7 separate regions of the Homo sapiens genome follow, and regions 1, 2, 3, 4, 5 and 6 are each linked to region 7. Evidence: promoter capture Hi-C in 16 types of primary human blood cells and fetal thymus (Javierre and others, 2016). All regions are on one chromosome and are shown on one strand. The core of a region is centred on a gene start or on the middle of the fragment in contact, and the rest is flanking DNA. Distances in the headings are between cores, read along the strand shown.

Region 1 (3,349 bases), core at 316-2,815, 150 kb before region 7:
AGGGGTTCTGTGGGACAGCAGCTGCACCATGCTCAGTGCTGTGCTGATGTTAGGACCGTGTCCCTCCCTGGGTCTGAGTCCTTCATCGGGTCCCTGAGGGAGCTGGCCCCGCTCGCCGCAAAGCTCTCTCTCAGGTCTGAGATGCAGCCGGTCCCTGGCTCCGCCTGGCTGCAGCTCCTCTGGGCCCAGGTCTCCTCCAGCGGAGAGCAGCCTGGCGGCGTGACGGGAAGGGTGCCGGCTCAGGCCAGGTGCCCAGGGCTGTCAGCAGCCACCCTCCAACACCCAGGCTGGTCCAGCTGGAGCCTCTCAGCCTCGCTCTGCAGATACACGCCTGCCGAGGAGCAGCAACGCCCGAGACGGCGCCAGGTCCCAGGGCCAGGCATGGCCGACAGACACACACTCCGCTGGCAGCTCCACCAGCGCCCAGCCTGACATCAGACCACAGTTCACTCCGAGCAGCTCCCAAAAACACGGCCTCCCTGGGCCTCCACCCTCCTGCCTCCCCTCTGCTCTAGCTGTGCCCCACCCTCTGGGATGCCCATCCCCCCCCCGGACCTACCACGCCATCAAAGCCCAGCACGTGCCCTCCTCTCCCAGGAAGCCTTCCTGAACTTTAATACACACCACAGAACTTCAAAACTTCAAACGCCAGAGCTGAGAGGGACCAGGTCCCACCCCTTCATTTAATGGGGGAAGAATATGGACCACCTGCTGCCCTCCCTGAGTGCTTACCTTCAGCCTCCTCCCTGGGGACCCCAGGACTCTACTCAGCTGTGGCCCAGGTGATACGAGTCTGCGGGGCCTCTGTCCTGCTCTACTCTTGCGGGTGACCTTGGGTCAGAGGCCTCTCCCTGGGTTCAGTTTTCTTATCTGTACAATGGGTGTGGCAGGGTTTAGACGCTGATTCCTCCCAACTCTGGGGGACTTGGATTTTTAATTGGTCCTGCCAGGAATCCAGATGATTTAGACACCCAACAAAGTCAGGATTATGAAAATGTAAACAAACATCAAGTGATAAGGCGAAAAAGCCAGATGACACCCTCCAAGGGTAGGCAGAGAACGGGAAGGGCTACAGACACTTTGGCTCCCAAGGATACTTGTGCTCTGAGAAAGCTGAGTGCCTGAGAGAACAGGGGAGGACTTGGCTGCTCAGGGTGGTAACGGATGGGGGAGGAACCGAGGGAAACTTCCTGGAGGAGGAAGCTTCTGAGCCGGGCTGTGAAGGATGGGCTGGGAGAAGAAGGAGAGGGCCTGTTGGTGCTGGGAACAGCACAGGCCAAGCCTCGGAGGCAGAGCCATGCGGGTCAGGCCCAGCAACAGCCTGGCAGAGGCTACTCTGCCGCCTGCTTGTGACTCGAGCCCCACCCCTCTTCCAGCTCCCTGAAGCCTCCGCACTGCCAGCCAAGGCAATTTGGCGAGAATAGCGCTGAATTGTTTATCTGCCCCCTGGGACCATAAATGGTTTTAAAGCTTTATAAATGGCTTTGCTTCCCTGTTCCCACCCCGGGTTTTTACAGGGACAGGTTGTGAGATGGGGCTCCCCTGTGCGTCCCCCACCCCAGTCCACAGAGTCTGTGGCAAGGGGGCCTGGGCGGGCAACAGTCCCCTTCTGAGGGCCCCATCTCGTCTCTGTAGCCGGCAGGGAGAGCCAGCTGCGTTTACAAGCTTCAGTTGTCTCCTGCGGCACCGGCACCGAGGAATGAATGGCGTGGAGCTGGGGGTGGGGCAGGAAACACCTGGCAGCAGAGCCAGACACGGGCCTCCACCTGCCTCCCCCGGGAGCCCCCTCCCCACACCCACCTTTCCCTGGCAGGAGACCCCCTGCTAACCACCATCTGGGCCACACGTCCCGTGCTGAATTTCAGACTCTGCTAGTTTTCTGTCCCTCTTGCCACATCCCCCTCACTTGCCGTAAAGCCCACGGGAACGGACCCCTCCAGAGCTTATTTATTTTGTGCCCCAGCCCCAGCCCCCGCCACTGCCTTGCATGGTACAGGGCCCAGGCGACGCTTAATGAAGGCTTCTGTCTGCCTCGTTCACCTGAGATGCCCAGCGCTCGTGGTAGGAGCCAGGGAGAAGCCAAGGCCTACATCCTCGGCACTGGCCGTGCCCTCTGGCTCATCCAGCCCCGCGCCTTCCAAACCAACCGGGCCCCAGGACGGGGAGCCTGGTAAACACACAGACGTCCCGACGGCAGTGCAGCTGCACGGGCCCTGCAATCTGATGGCTTCACAAGCGGCCCCTCTAACCAGGTGAGGCGGGCGCCCTCCACTTCCAGATGGGGAAACCAAGGCCAGGGCAGAGAGGGCCAACCCTGGGGGCCCAGGGCAGAGCTGGACCTGGAACCCAGGCTTGTTGCCTCACGGTCAGACTCCTCCCCATGCCGGCGTCTCGTCGAGGGCTTATGGAGACTCAGAGCGCCTTTTCTCCACAAACACATCTGTCTGGTTACAAAGGCGCTCCCATTACCTGGAAGCCCAAGGGCCCCGGCGTCCTCGATCGGAGGAGAGCAGCCCGCAGAGTTCCTGTCTAGACCTCCTGCACATTTGTTCCTAATTTCATGCTCCGCGGGCTCCCAGATGCCTGCGTTCAGTAATAAACAGACGAGGAAGTGCTCGGCTGCCCTGTGCTGCCGCGGTTGGTCTCCGAGATGTTATCCAGAGCCCGGCTGGGGGTGGGCTGGCAGAAGGGAGTCTGCGGGGCCTGGAGGGCAGTTCCCAACAGCACCTGGAATGTCTGCCTTCCCAGCTCTATCCCCAGCTCAGCTGCGGGGGGAAGAGGGGGCAGTGAATCAGGCCCCTGCCCACCACGGGTTCTGAGGGGCTTGCGGTCTGTCTAGGAGGCAGAAAATGCCCACAGCAGGGGGACTGGTGCTGCCGGGCTTGGCACAGAGTGGGGAGCTGGTGTCTGGAAAACTCGTTCGTGCCCAGGGTTTGCCCCCGTGGTTGCCTGGATTCCTTGAGGGGCCCCCAGAAAGAGCACAGGGACCATGGCATTTTGCTGGCCACTTCTGGGGTTTCACAGATTTCTAGAAGCTCCCCCCAGACCCCAGCTGGAGAGCCCCCTGGGGTCAGTACCATGGAGGGGCTCTTAGGGTCTGTGGTTCACTGCCCAGCAGAAGCAGGGCACACAGTGTGTGTTTGGCACAAAAGTGCAGATTGTGGTGCCCAGGGGTCTCTGTGCTCTTAAAGAATGGAAGCTGTTTCCACGTTGGGCCAGCCGGAGCTGCTGGGCAGTTGGGTAGGAGTAAGGCAGGGGTGGGGTGTGATGGGGAGCAGTGGGTCCCTGCCTTTCTCAGGACTGCCACCCAACCATGTCAGGGGTTGTAAGAACCAGCATGGCCTCAGCC
Region 2 (3,552 bases), core at 994-3,493, 130 kb before region 7:
TTCCACCTCTGCCACCTGGGAAAACTGAGCTCAAGGGCAGAGGTGACTAGCTCGGTCCGGCAGGGACCCACTCCCACAGGCACGGACGGCTCCCCGAGGGCTGAGAGCGCCCAGAGCACAGGCGGTAACATCCAGCCCAGTGGGATGATGGCTCTGACACTGAGCTGCTGCTGAAACAACAGTCCTCCCCCAGGGCCCCGGGGCCGCAACCTCACTGCCTACGTGCGGCCCATCCCGAGCGTCCGGCGCTGCCTGAGCCTGACTTAAGGGAGTGGTATAGGAGTGACATTTGGGCAGTCTCAGGCCGTCTCCCATCACCCCAACACAAACATCCAGCCCTCAACATGCTTGTCACTTGCCCTCTTCTTACCACCCTGGTCCAGGCCTCCATCATTTCCCTTCCTCCCCAGCTTCCTGCCTGCAGGGCCCCCTCTCCAAGTCATTCCCCATGGTGCAGCCAGAGAGGGTCCCTAAAGGGCAGAGCGAACCATGTCCCTCCGGGCTCCCAGAGCCTGGTTCCTGTGGACTGCGGCGGAAAGCCCAACCACTGAGCAGGGCTTACAAGCCTGGCGGAACCGGACCCCACCTGACTCTCCAGCCTCCTCCTTCACTGATGAGGCCCGAGGGAAGGAGGAGGCACAGTCTCCATTTTCCAGCCCAAGACCTTCAGGCCCAGGGTTCCACAGCCAGAAAGCAGCAAAGCTGGGCTTTCAACTCTACCTCCACCAGCCCACTTCACCCCAGGGGCAACAGGATTCCTTCCCCTCTCCAGCAACCCCCAGCAAGCGGGGATTGGGCCAAGGCCTGCGGGAGGATTCAGCAACGGAGGGAGGGAGCTGGCAAACACTGAGGCCTCGGAACTCATCAAATCCCCTCTGGAGCAGATCCAGAAAGACTGAGACACTGCAAGAAGTACCAGTGCCAAGTGTGGCAGCAGCTGGCAGAGAAGCCCCCCAGCCCCACCCTGGCCTCTGTAGGGTGGTCCCCAGGACCACATGCTCTTGGCATCCAAAAGCCTTTTGGCCAGGCTCACGGTTGCCCCGGTGTCCCATGTGCCAGCAGGGAAGGCAGGAGCACCCTCATTTTTGCAGATGGGGATGCGGAATGATGCACCCGTGGTCTGGCCTGGAAACCACTCTCTCTGCCACACAAATTGCCATTTTACCAACACACAGATCAGGACTTGCTACTCTGAAGAGGGAAGTGGCGGTAGGGCCAGGAGCGGAGTGGAGGACAGAACAAGGGCTCGGCTGCTGCTCTGCCTCCCCTCCTGCCCCGAGAGTTTAGAGTCAGAGGTAATTGACTGAGATGTAATACATCTCTCCCCTCCCGAGTGCTGTAATTATTCCTCGCTGGAGCCCGCTGCCATGAGGCTGCAGAGGCAGGCCCACGTGGCAGGAGCCAGAGGTCTCACTGCAGGAGTGGGTCTCCATGCTGTGAAGCCTCACCCAGAACCAGCACCAGAAAAGTCAGGAATATAGAGCCAGCCCCTAAATATACAAAACGGGGGTGATCATGTGAGTAGGGAGTAGGGTTGGCACGGACTGGGGGCTTGGACTCAGGTCAGTCCGAAGATTTCAAAACTGCTCTGCACTCCCTCAATACCATGGCAAAAAGGGAGGAACTGCACTCCTCCCAGCTTTCCTACTCCATCCGGGGCTTAGATGAACAGAGCTGTAATGGCTCAGAGGGGGGACATGAAATGATCCACCCCACAATTTTGTACATGGGAGACTGAGGTCTAGAGAGGAAAGTGACTTGCCCAAGGTCACCCAAAAAGGTGGACAGAACTCGAGTCCCGACTTCTCCATCTGTGCCCACCTTTCCCCAGGTGCCCTTGCTCATGTTTGCTGATGGTACTGGCATGACAGACGTGTGTTGGGGACTCCAGCCTCAAGGGTAGGAGGAGCTCTGTGGGGCTCCTTGCCCTACCTGCTGGAGAGGCGAGGGTGGAGAAGCTGCAACACCTCTGTGTGCCAGGATTCTGAGTGGTGTCAGCACGTCCTGAGAGTCCAGCAATGCACCCTGGAGCTCCCACTCCCTCCCCATGCAAGTGGGGCACTGAGGCTGGGAGAGCCTGTGCATCCTTCCCAGACCCCCAGATCCTTCGGGAGCCATTTCCAAGCTTTCCGGCTGAGTCTAGACAAGCCGGCCCCATTGGAAACTCAGCTGATAGGGAAACCAAAACCCAGCTGGATCCAGGATACAAAGACTGCCCTGTGGGTCTTTTCATAGCATCGTGCAGATGCTCAACAAACTGCCAGCAAGTGCAAGACCGAATGAACAAAACCCCACATTTCCTGGGCCCCCGAGCCTTAGGGTGAGATTTTTTCACAAGCTGCCAGCACCTAAGCTGTTTAGGAAGCTTGCAGTCAGTGCACCAAGAGTTAAAACCAGCCCTTGCCCAGCCCAGGAAGTGCTGGTTCTCACCTGCTCAGGTGGGTAGAGCCCTGGTCACCTCCACTTCACTCTCAATTCTATAAGAGGGAGAAGGTGGGAAGATGGGCAAAGGTGCTTTCCCAGCAACCCTGAACTTTTTGGGGGTTGGTAATTACTGCTCTCCCCAGAAGCCCTGAAGAGCGTGAGTTGGCAGGGGCTGAGGGAAATGCAAGGGAGAAGGCTGGCAGGGTGGCCCGCTGGCTCTCCTGAGCTCCTGCTTACTGGGGAAGGTGCTAGGACGAATGCTGGGGCTCAGGCCTCAAGGATACTCCCCTTACCCTGCAGAAGGTTCCATGAACTTGACCCTTGAGTTTCTTGTCTCAGAGCCATCGGGGTTGCTACGGGACACACACTGGCAGGACCACTTGTGCCCAGGCAGTCCGTGGCTGCGGGAGGACAGGACACGAGTGGGGTGAGACAGTGGAGCCCTGAGGACCCATGTTGAATATCTCTTGGGTTTTTGGTGTGTAGAGTCTTTTCTTTTCTGGCTGAGGAAACCTAGTGTCAGTTAGGCAACCCCCCACCTGTCAATGAAGCAGAGATTCCTAACAGACAAAGGTGTGAGGTGGTGGTGACAGAGGCCGGCGTGTTTGAGGCCATCTCCACCACTTCCCCACTCTGTGATCGTGGGCAAGAGACCAAACCTCTCGGAGACTCAGTTTCTGCATCTGTGAAATGGGGCCAATGCCCCTTTCTCGTGGGTGTTGGGTGAATGGGATGGGATGAAAATGCAGCACCGACTCTGGAAGAAGGCAAAGCTCAGCAAATGAAAAAGTCTTAGCTCCTGGCAGGGAGAGAAGGCGGCCAGGTTTCCAGAGGGCTCTTCTGGGAAACTTTCCCTCCCCACTGCCCCCTGCCCCCAGGCCACTGTTCCGAGGGAAATGAAGCCCCCCTTCCTAAAGTGGGTCCCCCACCTCTCCCTTAGGCCCTCGTGCCCACCTGGGTCTCAGTCTCCTCCTCGGGGATGCGCTTTGAGGGTGGAAGCCAGGGGATGGGTGACGCCAGCTGGGTCAGGGGACCTGGTGCGAGGCAGCCGGGGCAGGCTGCAGTGGGCACTCTGGACGAGTGGGCACCTAGCTGGAGCTTTCCAGCCTGCGTCTTCTGCCCCACACC
Region 3 (3,437 bases), core at 366-2,865, 250 kb before region 7:
GCCCCTCCTAGGGACACCACTGTCCTTGACCCCTCTGCAGGCCAATCAGCCCTCCTTGGGAAGCCGCCGTCCTTGCCCGCTCTGCTCCTGGGGTCCCACCCAAGCTTCAATCCTCGCTGTGTGGTCTTCCCTCCGTGAGCCTTCATTTCCTCATCGGTAAAATGGGGGAGAGGAGAGCGCGGGGGTCAGCCCTGAGCCTGGCTGGTTGGCTACTTAATGGGCTTCTGGTACCTTGACCACCATCTTTGACAGCCTCAGTTTACAGATGAGGCCCTGAGGCCTGGAGGAAAGGATTAGGCTGCCTGGGATGTGGGTGAGAGGTCTGATTCTGACCCGGTGAAGTGAGCTCCTGTCCCCTCTGGGGTTCCCCAGCAGGCATTAAGGGAGGGGTCAGACGAGGTCCCCCTACCGTGGCCAGATGTGCAGCGACCTTGGGCTGTAACCTCAGGGGGTTCGCGCCCCCCACAGCCTGCTGGGGACTGACCAGGCCTGGGGGAGACTGGGGGAGCGAGGGGCTGGGAGGGAATACCACCTGGCCGGACGAGGCCCACACCGCCCTGCCAGCCTGGCATCTCTGCTCTCCCAGGCTCAGCCAACACCCGCTCTAGGACTCAGCCAACTATTTGTGGGCTGCTAAGTAGCATGACAGCTGCTTTTCTTGCTAAAGTATGACATTACATTTTTCCGGATGGCCGGGCACTTCCTGGCCTGAAGTGTGCTAAGTGACAGCCTCACTCTGTCCCGCTGCCCCCCGAGTCCCTGCCCGCCTCCCTGCTTTGTCCAGGCTGGCTTGCAGGGCCAGGCCGAGACCCGTCCTGGCCTGTGTTCAGACAGAGCCTAGTACGGGCCCCCAGGGCTGCAGGTGGCCCAGGAAACTTCCCCGGGGTTATTTTTGGCCTCTGTGCTGGCCCATGGACTCCCTGCCAAAAGCAATTACTGAATTTTCATCTTGTTTTGCTGATGGTTTAGACTATGTCAAAAATGTTCCACTGGAAGGCCTGAGGGCACCTCGGGCTGGGGGATGTGGGGCTCGGGAGCCCAGCTGTGGCCGGGTCCCCGGAATAGATCTCTGGGGTTGCTGGCGAGAAGAAGGAGGACAGGGGAGCCGGGGCCTGTTTGTTTGTAGCTGCCACTGGGTGCTTCCCACACGCACAGCGTGCTCGGCTGGTGGTCATGCTCCCTGCGCCCTCTGCCAGCTGTGCGTGTCCTTCTCTCCCACTTTACAGAAGAAGAAACAGGTTCAGGGAAAGGGCCGAGGGCATGCCCAGGCTGCACTCTGTTCTGTGGGCTGCCGCACTTCCAGCGCAGAAGGATTTCCCTGGCTCAGGGGTGGCAGGGACTGGGGGCTGGGGAGGCCACGGGGAACAAGGCAGGGTCTGCCCAGGCCCTCTTCTCACTGCCCGGGGCGAGGGGTGTCCGAACCAATCAGATCTTTCCTAAGTTAAATGTCTGTGTTGCGGGCTTCGGCTACTCTGTTCATCCTCCTGGGAATTGCCCAAATGGCAGCCAGGTGGATGCAGGAGAAGGTTGGAGGGAAGGCTGGAAATCAGAGGGGGCCGCCCTCAGGCTTCTGTCCATCTGCAGGGGCCCCACTGGCAAGCAGCACCTCTCCAGAACTCTGTGTCCCTTCCTCTCCCCTCCGCAGCAGCCCTGGGAGGCAGATGCTGCCATGAAACCACGGTGCCCTCAAGAAACCTGGCCATGAGGGGGCTTCCTGCCTGCCCACGGCCCTGCAGGTCATGGTAAGGGGTGGTCCTGGAGTTTGTGCCCTGGCACTTCCATTCCAGAGTCACTGCCAGGACCTTAAGCCTGGAGCTCCCCAGGCTGCATGGCAGTGGCTTGCTATGCAGGCCATGGCTGGGGTGAAGGGTGCCTGGGGCGAGGGGACATGTCACTTGGGGCCCTGGGTTGCCTGGCCTGCTGGGGGCCCCCTTGTTGCTCAGCTGCTGTCCTGGGGTCACGGCTCTCGGCCACTCTGCTCACTTGCAGTTCCTGGGAGCCTGTGGACATCGTGTTCTCGAGCCTGAAGGACCAGCAGGGCCCTGGGTGAACGGGGCGGTCCAGGGCCAGGGCCTGTGCTCACACTCCTGCGTGCATTCCCACGCTTCAGCAAAGCAATGCCGCCTCCTATCTGACAGGCTCAGGGTGGCCCTTCGTGGGTATTGTCACCACATTCGCTTGTGCATCAGACGCTTTTTGAGGAAGCTCAGGCCCAGCTTCATACCAGGCACTGGGATGGGGGTCAGCCCTGCCTTGAGGGCTGACCAGTTCCAGAGGGGAGACACACTGAAAACCATCACACCCTCGGCAGGCTGGGGCAGGGCAGAGGGGCACAGGCACCAAGACACAGGAGAGCCAGGTCAGGGCAGAGGGGCACAGGTCCCCGGACACAGGAGAGCCGGGGCAGGGCAGAGGGGCACAGGACTCGGGACATAGGAGAGCCGGGGCAGGGCAGAGGGGCACAGGCCCCCAGACACAGGAGAGCCGGGGCAGGTCAGAGGGGCACAGGACCCGGGACATGGGAGAGCGGGGACAGGCTGCTTCCTGGAGGAGGTGATGCCTGAGCTCAGTGAAAAAACACATGTGTGGGGCCAGCCAGGGGATCGGGTTATGCAGGGCGAGGCTGCCCCAGGTACTTGGGAGGGAGGTGGCCCTGGGTGGGTGTTGGGGCCGTTGGCGGCAGGTGCATCTGCCCTGGTGTCTGCCAAGGCAGAGCCCAGACTGGACGGCTCAGCGCTGGCCTGGGTGTGGGCGACGCTTGCAGGGGCCGTGTGGGTGTCTGCGTGTGAGTGCCCATTGTGAGTCTCGTGTACCTGTGTTCACATGGCTAGGGTCCGGCTTCCAGCTGGTCCTGTCGCCCTGGGATGCCACACGTATTGTAATTACATCTGGGATTTCAGGGGGAGGAGGAGATGGGGTGCCTGCATGCCTCCTAAAATGTTTGAAGGCCTTATATTGGAAGAATGGGAATGTCTGCCTGAGGGGCTTGCCCATATCGACAGAGAAGCCCGCCTCCTCCTGCAGATAAGGAGTGGGGTTTGCTTCTTGCGCATGGAGGATGGGTACAGGGCTCTGCTGTCCTGAAACGGACAGGCCTGCCAGCTCAGTTGATAGAGAGGGGGCTGGAAAGCTTGCCCGGGTGTCCCGCCCCCATGGCTGGGACACGAACTGGCCTTGAACCCACCCAGCCCCGGCCTCCCCTGCGTCCCCCAGGCTGGCGGCCTCACTCTGTGGCTGTGGGGCCTTTTCCCTTCCAGCTCCTGGCCCTGTTTTCCTGGGTCTTGTATGGGCGGGGGCCTTATGAATGTACCATCCAAGTAGAAAAGATGGGCTCACCACATGAACGCAGCTTCCAGACACCTCCAGCTGTGTCTCCCCAGGACCCTTCCATGGAGGTCTGACAGCCCTGGCCCAGGCAGAACACGGCCTCAGCGTGC
Region 4 (3,502 bases), core at 798-3,297, 230 kb before region 7:
CTAACCGGCAAAGAGATTTACACCCCGGGGCTTCCTGCCGACTCTGCAGAAACATCCCTTGCCCACCCCTCCTCCACATCCTCCTAGCCAAGCCCCTGCGGCTGAGACCAGGGTGAATTCCTTTCCCGGCGTCCAGCGTGCTTGCCCTAACTACAATCCCAGCCCCGAGAGCGGGACAGTCTATGAAGTAGATGGGGAGCTGTAAAGCCTTTTTAAAAGGGGCAATAAAAGTTTTGGGTTTCAGATCGTCTTACTGGAGAAGAGAATAACAGAGACAGGAAATTTCAGTAGCAGACACGACAAAGGCCACAGCACACAGACTGCCCTTAGACAAAAACGCCTCCGCTTGTGCAAACAGAGGACGGCCTGGCAGGGGGCACTGCCCCGTGCCATGCCAGCCTCACACGAGCTGCCGGGAGCTGGAGGTGGCTGCTACAATAGCCTGTTTTGTTTACATTGCTGTTGAGTGTTTAGAATACGTCTCCGCGTTGGTGCTGCCTGAGGTGTGCAGCACTCTCCCCTGAGCTGGGCTCCTGCTATGTGTGCCAGGAGGGGGTGTGGTGTGTGCCCCAGCACGGGGCACAGGCGTGGGCAGGTCGGGGCCGGAGTGTGGGGCTGGGGCGTGGCTGACCCTGGCACTGGGATGGGTGGGGCCCAGGCTGCTTCTGCTCCCAGGCTCGGGGAGGCTGTTGCTGGGTGTGTGCCCACCCATCCCCCCAGAGTGGGAAATGATCCAGCTGTGGGAGCACATGGTCATTCAGTCACCAAGAGTCCTCAGAGCTGTCCCATCCCTTTTGTTTCCAGCAGATGCACCGTCCTATGCAGTAACCACCAGCCACATGGACAGGGCTGCCTGATCAAACAGAACACTCTGGGATAAACTCGATTTCAGATACACGATGAATCATTTTTTGGTATAGGCGTGTCTCACGCAAGTGTCTCTCCAATAGCTCCCGGGGCACGCTTATGCTGCATGATCGTCTGCTATAGATCTGAAATTGAAACGCAACTGGGCGTCCTGTATTTCATCGGCAACGCCACCCATGTGACTTTTTTTTTGGTATTTTTAGTAGAGACGGGGTTTCACCGTGTTAGCCAGGATGGTCTTGATCTCCTGACCTCGTGATCCGCGCACCTCGGCCTCCCAAAGTGCTTGGATTACAGGCGTGAACCTCCGCACCTGGCCGGACCCATGTGACTATTCGAACTTAAATTATTTAAAATGAGGATAACATTTAAAGATCCAGGTTTGGGGTTGTACCAGCTACGTTGCAGATGCCCAGGCACCAGGCGTGTTGGGCAGCCCAGAGCATCCCCACTGCTAAAGCAAGTCCTCTTGGCCAGTGCTAGCTGGGGACTCCTAGTGACATCTAGAACTACTTTTCCAAGAACTGAACTCACAGTCCCCAGGTCTCCCGATCAGGGCTGGGGAGAGGGAGTTCTGGCTGGGGCGGCCTTGGAGGCCCTTTCTCAGATTCCAGGGACACGACGCCCTCGGGGCTGGCAGACATAGGGATTCAGAGGTGTTTGCATCTGCAGGCCATAATGTTTCTTTCTTGTTAACTTGCAGCGTTGGGGTGACCATTCTGGGTGTCAAGGGAGCAGGGTGGCCCCTCCCGGGTGCTCCCTACCTGGCTCCCTGGTCAGAGCCCCCAAGATGTCAAAGTGGGCCGTGGTGCCTGAGGCCATGGGAGGGAGACACAGCTGGGGGGACTGGCAAGACCCTGGCACCGTCTCCCACCCAGCAGCCACTGTCCCGAGCTGTCTGACGTCCCTGGCCCTCGGAGTCCTTATTGGCAAAGTGGGCTCAGGACTGTGTCCTGGGGCCCCCGAGGGGTCGCCTGTGAAGGGGAGGGGCCTGCCCCTGTCGGGAGGGTCGAGGCTGGGCCTGGAGCCCGGGATCCTGCAGTGGTGGGCAGGGACTGAGGGCTGGAGCGCGCCTCCTAATTGTCCGTGACTTACAGACTTGGCCAGGCTCTGGGCGGCCTTCGTAAATCGCTGCAGTGAGGAGCCTGCCAGTGTGGCCCTTCGCGCTTGGCAGGGCCCTCGTCGCCGCCCTGCTCGGAGTGGCCTGCCGCCTCCAACTTTCCATGTGCTGCTGCTGCGAAGCGGGAAAGGGGGGTGCTGGCTGCTTGCTGTGGTGGGGAGGGAGGTGGGGCGGCCACCGTGCAGGTGCCTGCTTCTGCAGGGATGTCCAGGGCTCTCCAGCTACGGGGTCCCCAGAGCCTGTCCCCTACAAAGCCTGGTGTGAGGCTTATGTGGTCTCCACACGGGGCCAGAGGGGAAGACGCTGATTCAAGGACACCCCGTCTTTTCACAGTGCATGTAGCGTGTGTGGGTGTGTGGTGTATGAAGTGTGTACATGTGTGCACGTGCGTGTGTGTATGTGTGGTGTGTATGTGTAGTTTATGGAGGGTGTATGTGTGTGCACATGCGTGTGTGTATGTGTGGTGTATGGAGTGTGTATATATGTGCACGTGTGTATGTGTGGTGTATGGCATGTGTACATGTGTGCACGTGTATGTGTGGTGTGTGTGTGGTGTATGGAGTGTGCATATGTGTGCACATATGTGTGTGTATGTGTGGTGTATGGAGTGTGTACATTTGTGCACGTGTGTGTGGTGTGTGTGGTGTATGGAGTGTGTATATGTGTGCACATGTGTATGTGTGGTCTATGGAGCGTGTACGTGTGTGCATGTGCATGTGTGTATGTGTGGTGTGTGGTGTATGGAGTGTGTATATATGTGCACGTGTGTGTATGTGATGTATGGAGTGTGTACATGCATGCATGTGCATGTATGTGTGGTGTATGGAGTGTGTATATGTGTGCACGTGCATGTGTGTATGTGTGGTGTATGGAGTGTTTATATGTGTGCACGTGCATGTGTGTATGTGTGGTTTATGGAGTGTGTATGTGTGTGCATGCATGTGTACGTATGTGTGGTGTGTGTGGTGTATGGAATGTATACATGTGTGCACGTGCATGTATGTGTGGTGTGTTTATGGTGTATGGAGTGCATACATGTGTGCACATGTGTGTATGTGTGGTGTGTGGTGTATGCAGTGTGTACATGTGTGCACGTGTGTGTAGGTGTGTGTGGTGTATGGAGTGCGTACATGTGTGCACGTGCATGTGTGGTGTGTGTATGTATGGAGTGCATACATGGGTGCACTTGCGTGTATGTGTAGTGTGTGTGGTGTATGCAGTGTGCACATGTGTGTACGTGTGGTGTGTGGAGTGCGTGCATGTGTGCACATGCGTGTATGTGTGGTGTATGGAGTGCGTACATGTGTGCACATGTGTGTATGTGTGGTGTGTGGTGTATGGAGTGTGTACATGTGTGCACGTGCATGTGTGTATGTGTGGTGTGTGTGCAGGCATGTGTGCACCTCCTCAGGTGGACTGGAAGCGTACAGAGGCAGTGCCATGCCTGTCCCTCAACCCCAGGTCAGGGCTTAGAAGTTGGGTGTCTTCAGCCCTATGATGGGGACACGTAGGACA
Region 5 (3,215 bases), core at 206-2,705, 180 kb before region 7:
GCTTCCCTGTGTCAGGGGCCAGCTGTGAGCAGGGTGACCCCAGACCTGTCGTGTCCCTACTGGAGCACAGTCCGTGGTGACAAGCCCCGCCTGCCCCCAGATAGAGGGTGGCCACCCTTGCAGGTCCCCACAGTTTCTCCCAGCAACTCACATGTGCCTGGGGGCTACTTTAAACAGGCAGTGAGTGGGGGTTGGAGGCAGGCACGGGCTCACTGGTGTTTGGTTTTGTTTTCTGAGGTCCAACCCAAGCCCTTTGACTTTAGACGCAAGCATGAACTGAACCCGGCCTGGGCTGGGAGTGCTGAGTGGGTCTTCCTTGGGGCTCAGGGACTGAATTTGATGGGAGATTCAGGGTTCACTCTCGAGGTGATGTGGTTTGGGGCCACCCTCCCACCCATCCAGCCCTGGGACCAGAGCAACAAAGCCAACCTCCCTGGTGAGCCAGGAGCCCCAGGGGATGCCTGCCGCTTTTCTCAAACTGTTTTCTGAGGCCACCGAGGTGCCTGGGGCTGCGGGGTGCAGGGAGGATGTCCTGAGCACTTCTGGCAGGCTCTGGGCGGAATCCTACTTTGCAGATGTGGACAGAGTGGGGCCTCGGAGCCTCCTCTGGCTGCCCCTCTTCCCACAGGGGTGGCACAGGGCTGTCTGCTCACCCTTTACCTTGGCATGCTCAAAGCCTTGGGTAGGTGGGGCCTGTGGCTGGTTCTCAGGACTCGGGCGGGGAGGGCCGGGCCTTGCTTTGGGTATAGTGTCTGAGTCTGAGAGGGGGTCCTGGGTAAAGGGCAGGAGGGACGGACCCAGACAGTGCCTGCCTGTGGGAACGGCACTACTCAAGGCTGCCAGTCTGTCTGTGTCTTCAGCGTGGGCCCTCTTCACCTCCCAGGGCAGTCCGGGGCATTCCCTGGTATTCCGTGTGTGAGGCCCACGGTAAGGCCTCCAGTAAGTAGAAGCTATTAGTAGAAAACTGAGCCTCCAAGTGGCAGCAGTGGGGGGTGCCTTTCAGGACCCACTGCCTGGGTCAGGGAGGCCAGCTCTCCGGCAGTCACGGCCCTCCAAATAGAATAGGTTTATCAGAGTGGCACCGAGGCCTCGCTGTGGAATTTGGCTTAAGGCATGGACACTGTGTGAGTTGAGCATCTCTGTCTTCCTCTGGGCCTCAGTTTCCCCATCTCTCACTGGGGGGCTTGTCAGGGGCTGCCCTTTGGGCCCACCAGGTCAAATATTCAGTGATCCTTAGGCCAGGGTCATGGCACAAGCTTACGGATCCTCAAGCCGCTTTGTAAAGAGTCTCTCCTGCCCCATCTTGGTTGACTCTTACCCTCCCCTCTTAGCCCCCCGCCCCAGGATATATTGAATTTCCAGGGCCTGTCAGGGGCCTCAAGGGTCGATCAACTAGGCTGTCAGCACTCAGAAAGGCCCTGACTGCTGAGATGCCGCTGCTCCCCCGGCCGGCCTGCCATCAAAGGATGCTGCCGCACAGGGACCAAAGATGGTGTGGAGAGATAAAGGGCAGAGGGAGGCGGCGGGGGAAACCACCAGGCCAAAATAGCCACGTCTCGGCCGAGTTGTCCAAACACAGGAAGTCGTGTCTGCTCAGAGAAGGCAAAATCAAAGGGGCAGCCCAGAAAGGAAAGGCTATTTTCATCTTTCCAGAAAAGCTTCAAACAATCAAGGGAGGGGCCCCTGTCACCAGACTCCGACTTTGGGAACAAGCTTCTGAGACACAGAGACGCGGAGTCCCTCTCCGCAGCCTTGGGGGGAGAGAAGAACAGAGCACTTTCTGGCTTGTTTATAAACAAACACGGTGGCTTCAGAGCTTCTCCTGCCTGGGGAGCCCGTGAGCCTGTGTCTGGCCGGGCATCTGGGCGAAGGACCCTGAGGAGTGACAGGTGGTCTGGTGGTGACTCCACAGCCGTCACCAGCCCCAGTCTAGCAGCTCTGACTTTCACAGCTGAGAGGGGCAGTGACTTCCTTCCAGATGGAGGAGAGCGACGGTTTGGTGCTTCAGCGATTTCCTTGGTGTTCCGCTTCCCTGTGCTACTTCCAAGAACGGAACCTGCTAGGCGTTGCATTGTTGTGCAAATATATGCAGGGTTATGTTCAAGAGTTGCATCTGCTATGCCCCACACGTGCTGCTGCGAAGAGTGTGTGGGCAGCCCCTCCAGAAATACCTTTGGTGCTTAAAATCCAAAGGGTTATTTTGAACCGGGCCCGCTCTCTCTTGAGTCAGGCATGAGTCATGCTGCCTGCTGGCTCAGAGCATGTAATTAGATAAAGATGGCGGAGCGTCTCCATGGGTGGGGTGGAGGGGCATGGGTTGGATCTTTTCATCTCTTTTTGTTCTTGGGGAGAATTTAAAGCTGTTGAAAGTAGGTGGGGAACTGGTCAGCACAGTTTAGTGTTTTCTGAATCGAACATTAAGGACTGGTCTTCCGGGTTCTCCGTTCCCTGAAAGGACTTACTTATCCTGATCTGGGTGCTCTGAGTGGCCCCCATTGGGGCAGTTTTCCAGGTTTCCAGGGAACTTTTGTTCTGAGATGACAGGGTCTTGGGAAACCCCCCACCCACCCCCATTTTTTTTTTTTTTTTGAGACGGAGTCACTCTGTTGCTCAGGAGTGCAGTGGTGTGATCTCGGCTCACTGCAAGCTCTGCCTCCCAGGTTCATGCCATTCTCTTGCCTCAGCCTCCTGAGTAGCTGGGACTACAGGCGCCCGCCACCACACCCGGTGAATTTTTTTTTTTTTTTGTATTTTTAGTAGAGACGGGGTTTCACCATGTCAGCCAGGATGGTCTCGATCTCCTGACCTCGTGATCCACCCGCCTCGGCCTCCCAAAGTGCTGGGATTACAGGCAAGAGTCACTGCGCCTGGCCCCCACCCCCATTTTTAAAGCTTCCTCTAAGTTCTGAAAGAGGGAGGAGAAGGCACTCTTCCCTTCCCCTTGAGCCCCAGGATGGGACAGACTCTCCTGGCTTGAAGCTCCCAGGTGAAGGAGGCTTTGAAGAAACAGTGGGACCAGCCCCCAGCCCGCAGCCCTTCCTGGGCCTTGGTCCCCATGCCTTCTCCCTTCACTCCTCTTCTCCCTCCCTGAGTTTAGGGAGCCACACCAGTGAACTCACTGCTGAAGCTCCTGTGGGTAGATCATTCCTGGGGCCTCAGATGTGTGGTCAAGGCAGCGTTCATCCCCACAAATACTGCCTGGCTGTGGGATCCTC
Region 6 (3,236 bases), core at 489-2,988, 200 kb before region 7:
TGTGGGGTCCCTCCCAAGGGAAACCGTTAGTCACCCTGGCGCTGGCTGGATGTGAGGCCACAAACGCCAGGAGAGCTCGGGGACTGTGCCAAGGGGTGCGAGGCCTGGCGGTCACCAGAAGAGAGAGGAAGGGGATGGCAGAGGCACCCAGAGCGAGTGTAATCCGGTCATGTGAGAGGGACTGGGTGTGTGTGTGCCTGTGTGTGTGTGTGTGTGTGTGTGTGTGTGTGTGCTGGGTGACAGGTGCCACCATGTCTGTGATTCAGCACAGCGACCCCAGGGGGCAGTGTGGGCCTGGGTTAGGGTTAGGGTTAGTCCTGGTTCCACACCGCAGGTGGCCCTGTGACTAGGAGCAGCCACCTTGCATCCCAGTTGCCCCAGCAGGAGAATGAGATGAATAAGACTTGCCTGCCCGAGGGTCCCGGGGAGAGAAACTTAAACAACCCGGCAGAGGAGAGAACCCGACACTCAGGAGCGCTGGCATCCCAGCCTTGCCTACTGGAGAGGTGACTTGGTCCCCGAACCTCAGTTCTTCCACCTGTGAAATGCAGATCATAAAGGTGGATCTGGCCTCACAGCTCTGGGCCCGTAGGACAAGCTGGACAGAGGGCAGACGGTATTATCGCTTTCACTACTATTACTGGTGGCTTTCCTTCCCAGCCTTTCTGGTGGGTGGTCAGACACAGGGCAGAACTTTCTCATGAAGGCAGCTGAAGGAACTCACAAGTTTCTTCCAGCAGGGAGGACAGAGGGAAGGAGAAGTGTCTTCCCGGCACTGCTGTGGGCCCAGGACATCTGCTGCATGGAGGCAGGGGCATGGATGAAAAGACACAGATGACCTGATGGAATGGTGCCCCAGCTTCCTCCTCCTCCCCTTTTTGGAGGTGCCTCTGTTTGCCGAGGATGGGCTCTGGGGAAGCTGGTGTGCAGAGGCTAGGTGCCCAGCCTTGCTTTAGGAAAGCCTCACAAAGTCTGGGGCCCGCCGGGAGTTTCCCAGGGGGGCTCTGCTGCTCCACCCACTCTCGCTCCCCTCTGTGCCCTGACTCAGCAGGAACAGAGGCTTGAGCTCCAGGCCTGGCCTGCCAGGGGCTGCCAAGTTGGTGCTGGACATCTGCAGAATCCCTGAGCCTCTCTGCCCTGGCCCTGGCTGCTCTAGCCATCTGGTCAGCAGGCCACGGGCACATCTGTCTCCTCCCTGGAGCCCTTGGTTCATTCTCGCTGGGTCTCCCTGCGTCCCTCCACCTGCTTAGGCCCCTGCATCTCGGGAGCTTTCTGAGGCTCGTGACCTGGGGCACGGTCGTCCCGGAAGTTCAGCCTTTCCCTCCGTACAACGGAGCCATCAGACGGGACACCTCATACATCCCAGACCCCATTCTCAGGAGCCCCAGGGACAGGGCCCGCTCTGGAGGCAGAAGCCGGACAGGCGGGGCTGGGGCTTTGCCACCGCCAGCCTCCCCGGTAACCTCAGGCCAGCGGCTGCTCCGTCTGGACACCCGACATGTGGCCCCCAGTTCTGGACCCGGGAAGAAGGCCTCCCTGCTCGCCGCTCCTGGGCCGCCGCCGCCGGCAGCAGCCAACAGGCAGCTGGGCCGGCCTGGCCGGGCTCCAGAGGCGCAGAGCGGGTTAAAGTGTGCGCCAGGCCGGCCGGCGCGGGCGGGGGAGCGGCCTGGTGGGAAGTGTGAGTGTTCCTCCCCGTCTGCCTGACAGCTATAAAGGCGGCCGCCGGCGCAGAGCCGCCACTGGGCTGCGCCCCTCCCGGGAACCCCCTCTCTTGGATGCTCTTTGAAGTGGGAGAGGGAGGCGGCGCGGGGGAGGAGGGGAAGGGGAGAGGGAGGCCGGGCCGCAGCCTCTGCACTCACGCCGCCCCCGCACGCACAGCGCACCTGGCGCCGTCTGCCCTCCGCAGCGCTCGCCCCTTTCTCTGGGAGGACAACCTGCTGACCCGAAGCCAGGTAGGCCACCTCGTCCCCGTCCCCCTCACGTTGCAGCGTCCACCAGGCCAGCCCACTGCTCAGAGTGGGGCTGGGGGTAGGAGCACCCCGCGCCCTCTGGAGCCGTTACATAACGTGGGGAGGCTTGTGGGGAGGGGTCGGGCCGCAGAGCACGGGGCAGGGTGGCCTCCCAGCACCTAGCCTTGTGCGCCCGGAGCTCTGTGTGCACGGCAGACCTCTCTGCTGCCGCCAGCCGCTGCTTTTGGACCCCAGGGAGGGATGGATCCCCGTGAGCGAGGCCTGGCCAGAAGCCAGTGGTGTCTGGAAGCCTTAATGAAAAAAGCAAGTGTGAGGCCGGCTGGCACCTGTCTTCAGCCGGCAGGCAGAGGCTGGGGCACCCGTTAGCCAATGGCACAGTGGAGGGGGCTCCTGTGGGTGTGAGGCTGAGAGTGCAGATGGAGGTCTGCAGGGGAGGGAGGTGGGGGGCAGGCGGCGGGGGCAGGGGAGGTCAGACTCAGGCTCCCCACTCCAGGGTGCACTGCTGCGTCGTCCGGGCTGCAGTGGTGTCCTTGGAGTGGCCCCTGAAAATCTGCAGGTGCCGGGCCTGCAAGGAAACTCTTCAAGTTGGATGGAGGCTGCTGAGGAGGGAGGGGCAGAGCCCGAGTTGGCCTCTGGCCTGGCAGGGGTGAGGGGTGACCTCCATGCCTTCTTCCCCTGGAATTGGCCAGGCGTGGGGGTCGAGTCCCTGAGTTTGCTAGTGTGCTACCTTGCTGTGTGGCTTTGAGCAGGTTGGCTCCCCTCTCTGGGCTCCAGGTTATGAGTGCAGGCTGCGTGGTTTCTGAAATCCCTTCTCTAACTCGCTGGCAAGTGACCCTCAGCACCTGAGCAAGGCCTGGACAGAGGTCATGGTGGATCTCTGGTCTTCCCTTCCACAGGGCAGGGTCGACGCTGAGGAGGGGGTGGGGAGAGCTGAGGGCCTGGAGGCTGGACAGTCCCTTCCAATGGGCTTGCTTTGACCCCTGGCAGGTGTTTTGAGCCAAGGGTGCTGGCTGTTGGGAGGAAGTCAGCCTTGTGGCCCTGGACTGCTGACATGCTGGCACAAACTGCACCTCCTCCTGCCCTGCCCCTCCCCCAATTCCATCTTCTCTCCGGGGATCGGGAGGCGGCATAGGTACCTGGGTTCTGCCTCACCTGAGTGCCGGCTGTTGCTGGATGCTGACTGTGGAGCTGCTGGTCTAGGGCGAGGCTGCACATTCCCCCGGGACCTGGCCAAGCCCATCCCCATGCACTGACCCTAGCAGCCAG
Region 7 (3,551 bases), core at 689-3,188:
GAGAAAGAGTCCCACTCTGTCTTCCAGGCTGGAGTGCAGTGGCATGATCTTGGCTCACTGCAACCTCTGCCTCCTGGGTTCAAGCGATTCTCCCACCTCAGCCTCTCGAGTAGCTGGGATTATAGGTGCATGCCACCATGCCTGGCTAATTTTTGTATCTTTAGTAGAGACAGGGTTTCACCATGTTGGCCAGGCTGGTCTCGAACTCCTGACCTCAGGTGATCCGCCTGCCTCGGCCTCCCAAAGTGCTGGGATTACAGGCATGAGCCACTGTGCCCAGCCTAAATTCTTTAAACTAAGAAGTTAAGAACGGAGGTCTCACAACAGCCCTCAATGGAAGGGTGGGGTGGTGTCCTGCCCAGTGTGGACCTCCACTGCCCTTTTCTGGGATCTGCAGGAAAAGTGAAAGGGATGTGGCTGTGATCCAAGATGTGAAGTGCTGTGCCACCTACGTCAGTATGAATGACTGATATAATTATCTAAGAAAGTCAGCATCCTTTTTCAAGAGTGGACCATAGCTATGCACGTTCGTTCACTCTCATTGAACACCTATAGACACATGATAATGTCTCTACTTCACAGCGGGGGAGTCTGACACACGGAGAGGCTCCCTGAGGTGACCAGGGTCATAGGGCCTCCATGTGGCAGTGCCAGGGACTCTCTCCTGCCCCCTCTTCTGACCATCCCAGGGGGACTCAGGACCCACTGCCACACTCTGTCCCACCTGAACTGTGGGCACTGCCCAAGCCCTGACGAAGCCCAGAACCCTGTCCTAGGCACAGTGGGGGATGTGAGGGGGATCCCAGCTCTCAGGCTGGTCAGGGCTGCCCCCCATCTCCTGCCCCAGTGCCCCATCCCAAGGGAGGGAGCAGGGAGTCTGATTGCAGCGGCGTAGGGGAGTGAGGAGGTGTTGGAGCTTGTCCTCAGCCTCTCAGCCCTCAGTGTGTCAGCCCGCCTGGCTCCTGCCTGCAGAGGTGGCCCCGGACAAGGAGGCATGCCTCCTGCATGTGTCTGTACATACCTTCAGTCCTTGAAGGTCCACAGTCTTCCAGGAGCCCCCAAAAGTGGTGCCCCACCAGGGGAAAGCCAGCTTGAGTGGCACCGAGGAAGGCCCTCCAAGGCTGAACACCCCCACCCCACCACCCACCACCCACCACGGTGCCGCATGGCACAGCACACCTGGTCAGCTGTGGGCAAAAGCCTCCCTCCTCCTTCCGACTGTGCCCAAAAAGCGACAGCTGCTGGCGCCGGAGGCTGCCACGTGCCCCTTCACCACCTGCCTGGTCAGTCAGGGCTCTTCTGACTGTCAGACTGGGGGCTGGCAGCGGCCCCAGCGGGGACAGCCCAGAGCCCCTCCTGCCTGCCACCTCCCTGGAAACAGCTGCCTCCACATTAACCCACTCTCTTGCCCCCTCCAACTCTGTCTCGTACCTGAGTCAGCTTCCCAGGAGTGAGGGCTGAGGACAGCCCTGGGCTTGGGATCAGACAGATGGGTGGGGGTTTTGTCACAGGACTGGGGCCTCGAGCAACAACTTAACCTCACTGCAAAGCAGAGGACCCAGGAACGCCCTCCTCCTCCCAGGCTCAGGGGGTGGTGGGGGTCAAGCGAGGAGAGCGCCTGGCACCTTCGCCTGGTGAGGGTAGGCAGACTTGTGGGGAGGAGCGGCAGGGGGCGGGGAGGCAGCTGCCCATATGGTGAACCCTGGTCCTGCTCATGCAGCTGGATGGTCCCTGCAGCCAGAGGCAGAGGGAGATCCCAGCCAGATCTGACCAGGCCCAGCCCCGCCCACATAGGGGAGGCCCCAGCCTCGTCCCTCCCTGGGGGTGTACCTCCAAGTACCTCTTGTCAGCTGCAGTGCCCCTCGGCCCTAAGAGTGCTTGGCCCAGCAGAGGTGCCTTCACCTTCTTGCTTCCCAAGCAGTGGCCTGGCCGGAACTCCAGGCCTCCCCCGCCCCCCACCCTCGCTGCCAGCCCCATGTCTCCGCCCAGGATCTGGGCGGAGCGTACCGCCCACCACTGCGGCTTCTAGGCCAGCTTAGTTGGGGCTTCTAGGCCAGCCCTGTGGGCAGCTCCCTCTGAGGGCGGCAGAGCAGGGTTGTGAACCCCATGCCCCATTACCCGTAGGCGACCTGGCAGTCACCCTTCCGCTCCAACCCTCATTTCCTCGTCTCTGAAACAGGCGCCTCAGGGTTGCTGCAGTAGACCCAGGCACCACCTGCCTGCTGGAGCCGCCCGAGCTCCCCGCGCCCAGAAGGAGCTATGCACAGGCAGGGTGGGCAGGAAAGGTGGGGTCAGCAGCAGCTTGGGCCAGGGGCCCGTCCACTGCAGGGAGGCTCCTTTGGTGAGGTCATCTCAGCACATGCCCCAGTTTGCTCACCCCCAGGGACAGGATGCTCACTGCCTTCAGAGGCGAGTGAGAAGGCCTGGGTCAGCTTCCCAGGGACAGGGTCTCCTGGTCTGTCTGCGTCCTGCTTTCCCGAGCTCCCAGACCCCTCTGGTGTTTGGGGAGATGCCCCCAAGCCACTGGCTACTGCACAGCACGTAGCCCCCAGGGCAGGGATTCCAGCCTCCATTGACTGTTGGGGACAGCAGTGCCCAGGGAGGGGGCCACACAGCAAGCTGGTGGAGGAGGCAGACCGGATGCTGCAGCCTGACTCTGGGCTGGGGCAAGTTACCCCTTCCCAGACAGAAGTAGACACCCAGAGGAGGGGTGTGGAGGAAACCCAGAAAGAATACACCTCTGGATGCCCAAAGAATCAGAACAGGTGCTGATGGAAAGTCACATCTCCTCCTCGCGCTGGATCAAAGACGGGGCATTTCAATGGCAGTCTGTTAATATTGTAATGATGCCAGCTGCCAATACCGGAAGCGATCGTATAGTAAACTGCTGTAATTAATACCAATCAAATCATTGTGTTCTTATTCACACCGAGGATGTCCGACTGTCTTGTTGCCAGCTTGTCTATCCTCTACATTTACTGAATGCCCAATGTGTACAAAGCACTGCTGGGAAACCTATAGTGACATCTAAGACCCAGCCCCTGCCCTCGAGGGGCTCAGGGTCCACGAAGCAGACAGATCCAGGGAGAGACACGACACCACAAGGCTGGCTTCCTTCCAGCAGGGAATCCAGGAGGACCTCTTAGAGGAGGGGGCCTGGGCTCTGGGCCTGACCACGTGCTGACACCATTCTCAGTCCCTGCCTCAAAGGCAAAGGGCCCACTGGCTTAGGCCCCTGGCTGCCCAGTGGAAAGCTGGCCCCGCCAGTTTGAGGCTTACCTGGGGTGGTGTGGGGGTCCTGGGGCAGAGGACCTCCTCTTTGGATGGTGTGGCTTGCCCAGTGGCCTGAGCTAGGGCTGTGCTCACCCAACAGGGTGACGAATGAGCTCAAGAGGGCAAGGAAGGAGTGTGGCCCAAGTTCTCCCAGGAGTCCTGGACGTGCAAGTGCATGGGAGAAAAACGCAGCAGTCACCACAGCTCCAGGGCAGTGGCCGGGTAGCCCACACTTCTCCTGTCCCTGCACTCAAAGACAAGTTGCAACTGTTGCAAAA

The links. The method cuts DNA at HindIII sites, captures the fragments that hold promoters and counts their contacts. A CHiCAGO score of 5 or more calls a contact.
Region 1: a fragment that was not itself captured here is called in contact with the fragment with the promoter of SARDH in region 7 in 2 of 17 cell types (non-activated CD4 T cells and naive CD4 T cells); the score reaches 7.2 in non-activated CD4 T cells.
Region 2: a contact is called between a fragment that was not itself captured here and the fragment with the promoter of SARDH in region 7, in 6 of 17 cell types (naive CD8 T cells, total CD8 T cells, non-activated CD4 T cells and 3 more). The highest score is 8.2, in naive CD8 T cells.
Region 3: a fragment that was not itself captured here is called in contact with the fragment with the promoter of SARDH in region 7 in 1 of 17 cell types (fetal thymus); the score reaches 5.3 in fetal thymus.
Region 4: a contact is called between a fragment that was not itself captured here and the fragment with the promoter of SARDH in region 7, in 1 of 17 cell types (fetal thymus). The highest score is 5.9, in fetal thymus.
Region 5: a contact is called between a fragment that was not itself captured here and the fragment with the promoter of SARDH in region 7, in 1 of 17 cell types (fetal thymus). The highest score is 5.1, in fetal thymus.
Region 6: a contact is called between the fragment with the promoter of ADAMTSL2 here and the fragment with the promoter of SARDH in region 7, in 5 of 17 cell types (fetal thymus, activated CD4 T cells, megakaryocytes and 2 more). The highest score is 6.3, in fetal thymus.

The regions. Positions count from the first base shown.
Region 1 is chr9:133,583,507-133,586,855 of GRCh38, forward strand. All of the region lies in intron 1 of FAM163B (family with sequence similarity 163 member B), which reads right to left. Among named protein-coding and RNA genes, the nearest start is that of FAM163B, 24 kb to the right of the region's middle. The HindIII fragment of the contact is 195 bases long and covers 1,469-1,663 here.
Region 2 is chr9:133,605,496-133,609,047 of GRCh38, forward strand. The region is part of intron 1 of FAM163B (family with sequence similarity 163 member B); the gene reads right to left. Among named protein-coding and RNA genes, the nearest start is that of FAM163B, 2.1 kb to the right of the region's middle. The HindIII fragment of the contact is 240 bases long and covers 2,124-2,363 here.
Region 3 is chr9:133,491,671-133,495,107 of GRCh38, forward strand. LOC102723855 (a long non-coding RNA gene) reads left to right here and starts at 41. Exons shown (of 3, transcript XR_428608.4): 1 at 41-3,437. The HindIII fragment of the contact is 3,026 bases long and covers 103-3,128 here.
Region 4 is chr9:133,509,306-133,512,807 of GRCh38, forward strand. No RefSeq gene overlaps it. Among named protein-coding and RNA genes, the nearest start is that of MYMK, 14 kb to the right of the region's middle. RefSeq lists enhancers at 1-396, 3,333-3,502. The HindIII fragment of the contact is 8,560 bases long and covers 1-3,502 here.
Region 5 is chr9:133,556,779-133,559,993 of GRCh38, forward strand. All of the region lies in intron 11 of ADAMTSL2 (ADAMTS like 2), which reads left to right. Among named protein-coding and RNA genes, the nearest start is that of ADAMTSL2, 24 kb to the left of the region's middle. RefSeq lists an enhancer at 67-568. The HindIII fragment of the contact is 402 bases long and covers 1,255-1,656 here.
Region 6 is chr9:133,532,966-133,536,201 of GRCh38, forward strand. ADAMTSL2 (ADAMTS like 2) reads left to right here and starts at 1,739. Exons shown (of 19, transcript NM_014694.4): 1 at 1,739-1,952. RefSeq lists a silencer at 256-345 and enhancers at 604-1,145, 1,146-1,685, 1,686-2,227, 2,768-3,236. The HindIII fragment of the contact is 12,534 bases long and covers 1-3,236 here.
Region 7 is chr9:133,736,414-133,739,964 of GRCh38, forward strand. SARDH (sarcosine dehydrogenase) reads right to left here and starts at 1,939. Exons shown (of 21, transcript NM_001134707.2): 1 at 1,841-1,939. The HindIII fragment of the contact is 9,698 bases long and covers 1-3,551 here.